2 separate regions of the Homo sapiens genome follow, and region 2 is linked to region 1. The links are contacts of gene promoters, found by promoter capture Hi-C in blood cells and fetal thymus (Javierre and others, 2016). All regions are on one chromosome and are shown on one strand. Each heading gives the region's core, a stretch centred on a gene start or on the middle of the fragment in contact. The rest is flanking DNA. Distances are from core to core; before and after follow the strand shown. Region 1 holds the start of EIF5A2 (eukaryotic translation initiation factor 5A2). Region 2 overlaps LRRC34 (leucine rich repeat containing 34).

Region 1 (4,145 bases), core at 887-3,386:
TTCCCCTAGGAGCAATGGTTTAGTATTTGCCAATTCAGTGTTCTTACTGACTTCAGGAGAACTGACTGTATTTATTGAATGAGTAATGCTCAGTCATTTGATTCCAAACCCAAATCTTTTGTGAATGCAGTATATGGTGGTAGGTAGAGCAGTGACTCTGGAACCAAACTGCCTAGGTTCCAACCTTGGTTTTCCAACTTACTAGCTTTGTAATCTGGGGCAAATTGCTTTTCTCCTTTTTCCGTAACTAAAAATGCAGGTTAAAAAAGTACTGTTAATATTTGCCAGGGGCTGGGTGTAGAGGGAGGAAACTGAGAACAAAAAGCCACTAGAAAACTTTTGGAATGAGGGAAATATTCCATATCTTGATCATAGCAGATGATCAAGATATGTTTTTCAAAACTCATAAAAAGAAAAGGGACAAATTTTTCTTTATATGAATAACTTAACAAGGTTAAAAATAGAAAGCAGCAGTGACAAACAAAGGAATAATGCACATCAAAAATTTAGTACACTACCTGCCTATATAAATACTAAATACTATTAGCGATCATTGTAAAAACAATAGGGAAAAGTTAGGAGGTATAAGGAAAAGCAGAAAGAGCTAATGAACCAAGATTCTAATCTGGCTCTTTCTTTTTGGGGTGTTGGGGGTGGGGGGGGTGGTCTCACTCTGTCAGCCAGGTTGGAGTACAGTGGCCGGATCTCGGCTCACTGCAGTCTCCACCTCCCAGGCTCAAGTGATCCTCCCACCTCAACCTCCCTAGTAGCTGGGACCACAGGTGCACAGCACCATGCCCAGCTAAGTTTTCGTATTTTTGGTAGAGACGGGGTTTCACGATGCTGCCCAGGCTGATCTCGAACTCCTGAGCTCAGGGAACCCACCTGCCTCAGCCTCCCAACGTGCTGGGATTACAGGCATGAGCCACTGCTGTAATGGCTCCTTTGTATATTAGCTAGAGGCTGAATTCAGTACATGAGAGGGCAGTAACTTATTGCGAAAGTTAAATTGGACCTGTTTGAAAGATATGTGTAAACTGTAGAGTCATACAGGAATGTGAGATATGGGATTATTCATGAGACAGCAATAGGAAATCAAAGTTACCACATAAATGCGGGTGTGGGATGGGAAATAATTTCCTAGATCACCTCCCCAAGATAGGATACTGCGGTAGGTTGCGAAATGAAACTGTGAAGGGGGAGCACATCTCTTTTAAGAACCTTTCTATGGCAGTCTACAAGCTCTAGGTCAATTTTGAAGACCATCCAAGCGTTCTAATGTGCCAGGGTTAAACCCCAAACTCTAAGGAATGCCAATGCCAGGAGGAAAGAATGGATGAGTCGGCAGAACACCTCTCTGGACCCACAATGCCGTAGGAGTCAGACACCCTTCGCCTCCACAACTTCCCAACAGCCTTTGGTGTGAGAAGTGGGTTAATTCATTTCACTGCTGGCTTGTTAGCTGGCGGACGCTTCGGGAGTTCCCACCCCAGGGAGCAGTGCTGACTCTACAGGGGCATCCGGCGGCAGTCGCTGCCAAAAATCTCACCAAGGGGTGAATGGGGGGTCCTCAGGACCTGCGGTGCCGAGCTGGGTAATAAAATACTGCACCTGAATTCTTCTTTAAGGACCAGGAGGAGGTTCGAACCCCAAGAAAGGCTGCAAGCTGAACCAGAAGCTCGAACCCAAAGTTCGCTTCACAGCCAGCCACACTGGCACTCGCTGAATCTGCGCGCCTCGCGAGTTCTGACGATCGTCATGTGATAACTGCCACGCACCTGATGGCAGGGGCCATTGGGTGCTTTGCTTGGTTCCCATTAAAGTCGACTGCGACCCGAACGCAACAAACCTAAGAGTTGGAAGGCGCAAGTTCCTCTGCCAGCGAGCTCACCCTCGGCAACCAGACTGCTGAAAGTGCGCTCCACGCCGGAAGTGCACTAATCCGCAGCACGTGGGGTTGCCAGGGCGCTCTTCACGTGACTGGGCGGAGCCTCGGGAATCTGGTAGCCAATGGTAGCCCGAGAGGGCGGTGCCTGTGACGCTCCGGGGCCTATCCCGGAAATAGGGCTGAGTGGGGGCGGGTAAGGGCGGGGAGGCTGGGGTGTGGAAAGTGTGGCGGCCCCGCCCCGTCTCTTGGAACTGCCGCGGCCGCCACCGCCGCTGCCGGCGCCGCTGCTGTAGGGGACCAGCGCGGGTGCGCAGACGAAAGGCGCTCTTTGCCAGCTGAAAGGTGAAGACCTGGGGAAAAGCTGGTGGGGAAAAGCTGGTGGGGATGGGGCCAGAGTGAGGCAGGGCCGGGGAAGGCGCCCAGAACTGAGCGCTGACCGAGAGAAAGAAGGAGAATGGATGGGGGAACAGAGGCGAGCGCGGGACCCGCCGGGGCTCAGGCCCTAGTGGGGCCGGGCCGGGCCGAGCTGAGCCCTGGATGCCGGCAGAACAGGGGGCGCCTGTGCGGCCGCGGCGGCGACGTTGAAGGGTGGAGGGCGGGGTGCGCGCCAGCTAGCAGAGGGCCGGGTGCTGCTGGCCAGGTTCTGTTACCCCGCATCCTTCGCGGGGACCTGCGGCCTGGGCTGGGTCCCCCGCAGTAGGGTTCGGGGCGGCGGCCGAGGGCTGGGCGGCGGGGGAAGGTCGCCGGCTTCTGCGGTGGGGCGATGGGGGCCGCAACCTGCTGTTTCCAGCACGGAGGAGCGCCCAGGGCGGGTGTCCCCACCCTCAGCGAGCTCCTCTGCGACTTCTCATCCCACCTCCCCAAGCAGTAGCTGGAAAAGTTTGTAGAGGCCAGAGTTAGAAAGTGGCCACTAGTCTAGGGTGGGTGTTCCTTACATGCAGAAATAACGGGCCCATGATGCTTGGCACATAACTTGTCCGAAATGAGACGTTTCCCTGCCTACATACCCGTTGTTAAAAAGCAAACACAAACTTTTTGTGTAGTTCCCACGGAAAAACTACCATCTCCCCTGCCCACCATGGCAGACGAAATTGATTTCACTACTGGAGATGCCGGGGCTTCCAGCACTTACCCTATGCAGTGCTCGGCCTTGCGCAAAAACGGCTTCGTGGTGCTCAAAGGACGACCATGCAAAATAGTGGAGATGTCAACTTCCAAAACTGGAAAGCATGGTCATGCCAAGGTAAGTACCCTTGCAGATCAGGCTTTGGCTTCGGCGTTGGGACTTTGATCATTTGTATTCCGTTACAGATCATGAGATTTCTATACTTAAAATTTTGTAATAAGCACTATTTTTTCCTTCCCACAATTACTGGGTAATCAGTTATTACGTTGAATACTTAAAGGTAGCATTCCCTTCTTGGGCCCTTACAATGTTCATTAACTGGGAACTGAAACTTTCCTGAATCCTAGTGACCTATAAGATCTATTTAGTTTACAGATGAGAAAACCTGTTCTAGCAATTCTAAGAAATCTACACTTTATTTTTCTTGTGTAATCTCATAATTGAATCACTGGTCTATATTGGGTCTTGACATGTCGTGATACTGTTTAGTTGTTTACTGCCTCTTAATTGTAAGACCACTACATTTTTTTTTAAGTAAAATTAGATGACCTTGGAAGGAGGAGAAAAAGAATCTGTTGTAATCAGCATTGGTATTGTGCTCTTGTGTGTGTAATGAGTGATATACTTGGCAGAGATTAAACAGGTTTCCTGTTCTCCTCTGTTAGGTTCACCTTGTTGGAATTGATATTTTCACGGGCAAAAAATATGAAGATATTTGTCCTTCTACTCACAACATGGATGTTCCAAATATTAAGAGAAATGATTATCAAGTAAGCACTGATTTTCTTTAGAATGTTGCTTGTTTCTTCAAGGTGCAAATACTTTGTACTATCAGTAATAATTTGACAAAACCCAAGAGTAGTTTTGTAGGTTTTTCTAACCAATTATTAGGCACCAGCTATCTTAGAAATTGGAGAAATAGTGATGTTTAACACATGTACTTTTCTAGGATTATTGCTAGTTTGCTATTTTTTTCACATTCTTGCATTTTTTAAAAAGTCAAATACTTATTAGTGTTCTCAGGCCAAGTGACTGCATATTGCAATTAAGTCCAATGTTTAGTAAAAGTACTATTCTCTCTGTTGTAAAATATTTCTTGTTCTAATTTAAAACATCCCTCCTGGATGTTTT
Region 2 (4,145 bases), core at 1-2,500, 1.1 Mb after region 1:
CTGTTTGTGGATACGGAACTGTGTTCGGAGGCTGGCTTAATAATACTGCATCCAGGAGATGGGCAGTGTTAGGCTCTGCCTTTAGCATGAGAGGAAATTTAAGCTGGCATAACAACTTGTTCAAATGTACACACTGCGGATTCTGGATAGGGCACCCACGTTCTGACTCATGCTTATCGCTTAGATTTCCCAGTGCTTGGCTAAGTATAGAAAAGCATGTTTTGGAGGGATCTACCTCCTAAGTAAGTCCTCTCTCTGGAAATTGTTAAAACGTGGCTGCCAGAGGCGTGGATGAAAAAATGAAATTTGGGTTAGGTTCTTGACATTTTCCTGCGTAGCTGGGTTATTTCCTAGTTTTTGCTTTACAATTTGAAGGCTATTTTCCTTCTAATATGAATACAATATAGGAAATAAATTCATTGGTGCCACAAAATCCTGGCATACAAAATACGTAGGTGAATTTTAAATCAAAGGAAGGGTAGCAGAAACTTTTAAATACTGTAAATCTCTGGCTAGCTTGTTAAATAAGAATATTTCCATAACTTTGTTTAGCTGTATTTAGCTCGTAGTCTAAGATTCCTTCATGCCTTCGCGAAAATGAATTGTAGTCTGACACATTTCTGTGCCCTCGGAGATTCTCAGGGCAATTTTTCTCTTAATACCAAGGAAGACAGTAGGGAAGAAAGAAGCCCAGTGGGAGCCCAGCTCCAACTTCTATTTGGGATCTACTTGCTTTGTTTCCTGGGGAGGACGCTAAAGCAGCATTTTCTAGATTGCATTCCAAGTGAGGTTTTTGTTTTGTTTTGTTTTTGAGATGGAGTCTCCTCTGTCGCCCAGGCTGGAGTGCAGTGGCGCGATCTCTGCCCACTGCAACCTTGTAACCTCCACCTCCCGCATTCAAGCGATTCTGTCGCCTCAGCCTCCGAAGTAGCTGGGACTACAGGCATGCGCCACCACACCAGCTAATTTTTGTATTTTTGGTAGAGATAGGGTTTCACCATATTGGCCAGGCTGGTCTCGAACTCCTGGCCTCAAGTGATCCGCTCGCCTCGGCCTCCCAAAGTGCTGGGATTACAGGCGTAAGCCACCGCACCCGGCCGGAAATGCAGCATTCTTATCCTCCCTATTCTCAAGCTTAACAGTTTGCAGAGTGTGCACGTTTTAAATGCCCTGAGAAGTGTTGTGTCTGTGTATAGTTTTGTTTATTTTAGTACTTCTCAGACTTACTTGATAATAAGACCTATTCTATTTGGAACACCTTTGATCATCCTGTAGAACATGCATATTCCACAAAATACAGTTTGGGAAATATTGTGCTACAATATCATTTAAATACATGAAAATTTTCTAAAATAGGTGAAGCTTTTTTTAATACGTACATCTATCCACATGACAGAAATTATGCTATTTAAATTTTTCAGAGAATATCTAGTGACATGGGAAAACTGCTTACAATATAATGTTAATTTAAAAAACAGCATATAAAGTTATATCCAAAGATTCCAATTTTGTTTAAAAAATACTTAATATGCATATAAAAGAAAAACTATAGGAAGTATGTATGCCTAGACCTCAATTGTGGTTGTTCTTTGGCAGTGGGATTGCAGATTAACATGTATTTTTTTTTAATGTTAGAAATTTCCGGTCGGGCTCAGTGGCTCACCTGTAATCCCAGCACTTTGGGAGGCTGAGGCAGGCTGATCACTTGAGGTCAGGAGTTTGAGACCAGCCTGGCCAACATGGTGAAACCCCGTCTTTATAGCTGGGTGTGGTGGTGTGTGCCTGTAGTCCCAGCTACTCGGGAGGCTGAGGCAGGAGAATCGCTTGAACCCGGGAGGCAGAGGTTGCAGTGAGCCGAGATTGCGCTCCTGCTCTCCAGCTTGGGTGGCAGATCAAGAACCTATCTCAAAAAAAAAAAAAAAAGAAATTTCCAAATTGTCTGGAATAAGTATATTAAATTTATTTTTAAAAAGGTTATTAAAAACTATAAGAAAATTTTGTTTGCTTTCATCTGAAATGTAATGTTCCTCATGTTAAATCTCGTTCTGCAGATCCGTTTAGCAAACTCATTATTCTTCAGAGTGCAAAGGACACTCAGTAAACAACATTTCTGAGATGTAGAGACTTAGAAGAGAAGCCAGCTCCTAAAAAGCTAGGCTGGTTGAGCAATGAGATCTCTGTGCACAAATTTTTAAAAGACATCCACAAAAGGTAGATGTATAGAAAACAAAGACAGTGGCCTGTACTTCTAAGAAAAGTAACAGCATAACTTCCACCCCAGAAGATGTAGGCCTTGCAGAAGATGCTTTTGAGGTATTACTGAGAACAGCAAGGTCATTAAGGAAATCTGCATGTATAACAGAAAGGAGATCTCAACTCCTGCTTTGTGTCTGTCTTCTTAAGAACTTAGGGAAAAGTCACCTTTAGAAAGAGGAAATGGAAGGCTGGGTAGGAGAAGAGCTTCTGTGAGCCAGGCCTCGATTTGGTATGAAGAAATGACAGTTACATTCAAACTTGGGATGGTGTAGAGGGTATCCAAGAAGCTTGTGGGAGTAGGTGCTTTATCAGATCCCTTTTGAGTTAGGTTATTAGATAAAATTGTTTTTATGTGAAGCTATTTTAAGAAACCTTTTCCTCTCGTGGATGCTGAGATACTGAGTTGAAAAAAAAAAAAAAAAAAAAGAAACCTTGAGTCCCTGTAACCCATTAGGGCACAGTGGAAAGAGGTTTTGGAATCAGTTTGATTCTGCACTCTGCCTTTATTAGCTGCATGGTTTTGGACAAAATATACAATTTCTTTGGAAGTCATTTTCCTCAGCTACCAGGCCTGGCACATAATGGAGCTTAGTTCTCCCTTTATGTCACTTCCAACGTAGGGTGCTCACTTGAGCCAGTGTCTGCCAAGCCTCAATGGGTGCTTCAATGGCCCTAGTTCTCCAAACAGCATTTTAATTATCTCTCCCATTCATTATTTTTATTTCTCTTCTCTTTTTCTAACCTTAATTCTGTTTCCTTTTCTTCCCTACCCCCACTATACACACATACAACTCATATATTTGAAAGAGGTAGTTTTTATGGTTTTTTTTAAAGCTTCTAGAATAATTTATATGTGATAGAGGATGCATATATTTTTCAGAATCTCCAGAATCTGGTCTCCAGAAACATTATTCTAATCTGTGTATGGAAAAATCCCAGAAAATTAATCCTTTTATATTGCATATACTCCAAGAAGTGGATGAAGAAATTAAAAAGGGGTAAGAAAGACAAATACTTGATTACATTAATAGTGTTTGCTTATATTCATGTGTGTGAAAATCCTAACATATTGAGTGATTTTATAGCCATTTGAAAATGCTTGGTAAAATGAACATACCATTTGATTCAGGTAAGTAAGTACACGAGCAACACTGTTAGTAGGTCTTAGAGGTGGTATAGTATTCAGGAAAGAGCACTAGACCAGGAGTACCCAAGCTTGGGCTCCAGAGTGATCTTTAACTTCTGTGGGTGGGGTGAATCTTTTTTTTTTGTTTGTGGGCAGGGTGAATCTTTTTTTTTTTTTTTTTTTTCTGAGATGGTGCCTCCCTCTGTCGCCCAGGCTAGAGTGCAGTGGCGTGATCTCGGCTCACTGCAAACTCAGCCTCCTGGGTTCAAGCAATTCTCCTGCCTTGGCCTCCCGAGCAGCTGGGATTACAGGTGCTCGCCACCATGCCCGGCTAATTTTTGTATTTTTTAGTAGAGACAGGGTTTCACCATGTTGGCCAGGCTGGTCTCGAACTTCTGACCTCAGGTGATCAGCCCGCCTTGGCCTCCCAAAGTGCTGGGATTACAGGCGTGAACCACCACGCCTAACCTGAGCTGGGTGAGTCTAAGCAAATCACTGAAGTTTTCAGTGTTATCTATAAAGTGGGGATACTGTTTGTGTGAGTGTGAGTGTGTGTGAGAGAGCTAAATATATGGAATCTTTTAAAGCACTTTGCAGTCTGCAGAATGTTCAGTAGTTTTAAGTTACCTGGTATAAATATACTGTATAAGTCTACTTATTATATGCTTGCTTCCAGTAAATGATATCTGTGATATGACTATTTATACATGAAGGAAACATACTTTTACTTCTTTACTGGGTTTCTATTTCAAAATCTTTTTTT

The links. Contacts are between HindIII fragments. The CHiCAGO score rates a contact against its expected background, and 5 or more counts as called.
Region 2: a fragment that was not itself captured here is called in contact with the fragment with the promoter of EIF5A2 in region 1 in 1 of 17 cell types (total CD8 T cells); the score reaches 5.6 in total CD8 T cells.

What each region holds. Positions count from the first base shown.
Region 1 is chr3:170,906,628-170,910,772 of GRCh38, reverse strand. EIF5A2 (eukaryotic translation initiation factor 5A2) reads left to right here and starts at 2,136. Exons shown (of 5, transcript NM_020390.6): 1 at 2,136-2,230; 2 at 2,932-3,131; 3 at 3,680-3,784. The coding sequence starts at 2,967. RefSeq lists a silencer at 2,476-2,615. The HindIII fragment of the contact is 11,425 bases long and covers 1-4,145 here.
Region 2 is chr3:169,807,737-169,811,881 of GRCh38, reverse strand. LRRC34 (leucine rich repeat containing 34) reads left to right here. Exons shown (of 11, transcript NM_001172779.2): 2 at 3,137-3,254. Among named protein-coding and RNA genes, the nearest start is that of LRRIQ4, 3.1 kb to the left of the region's middle. RefSeq lists a cis regulatory region at 3,398 and an enhancer at 3,326-3,470. The HindIII fragment of the contact is 228 bases long and covers 1,137-1,364 here.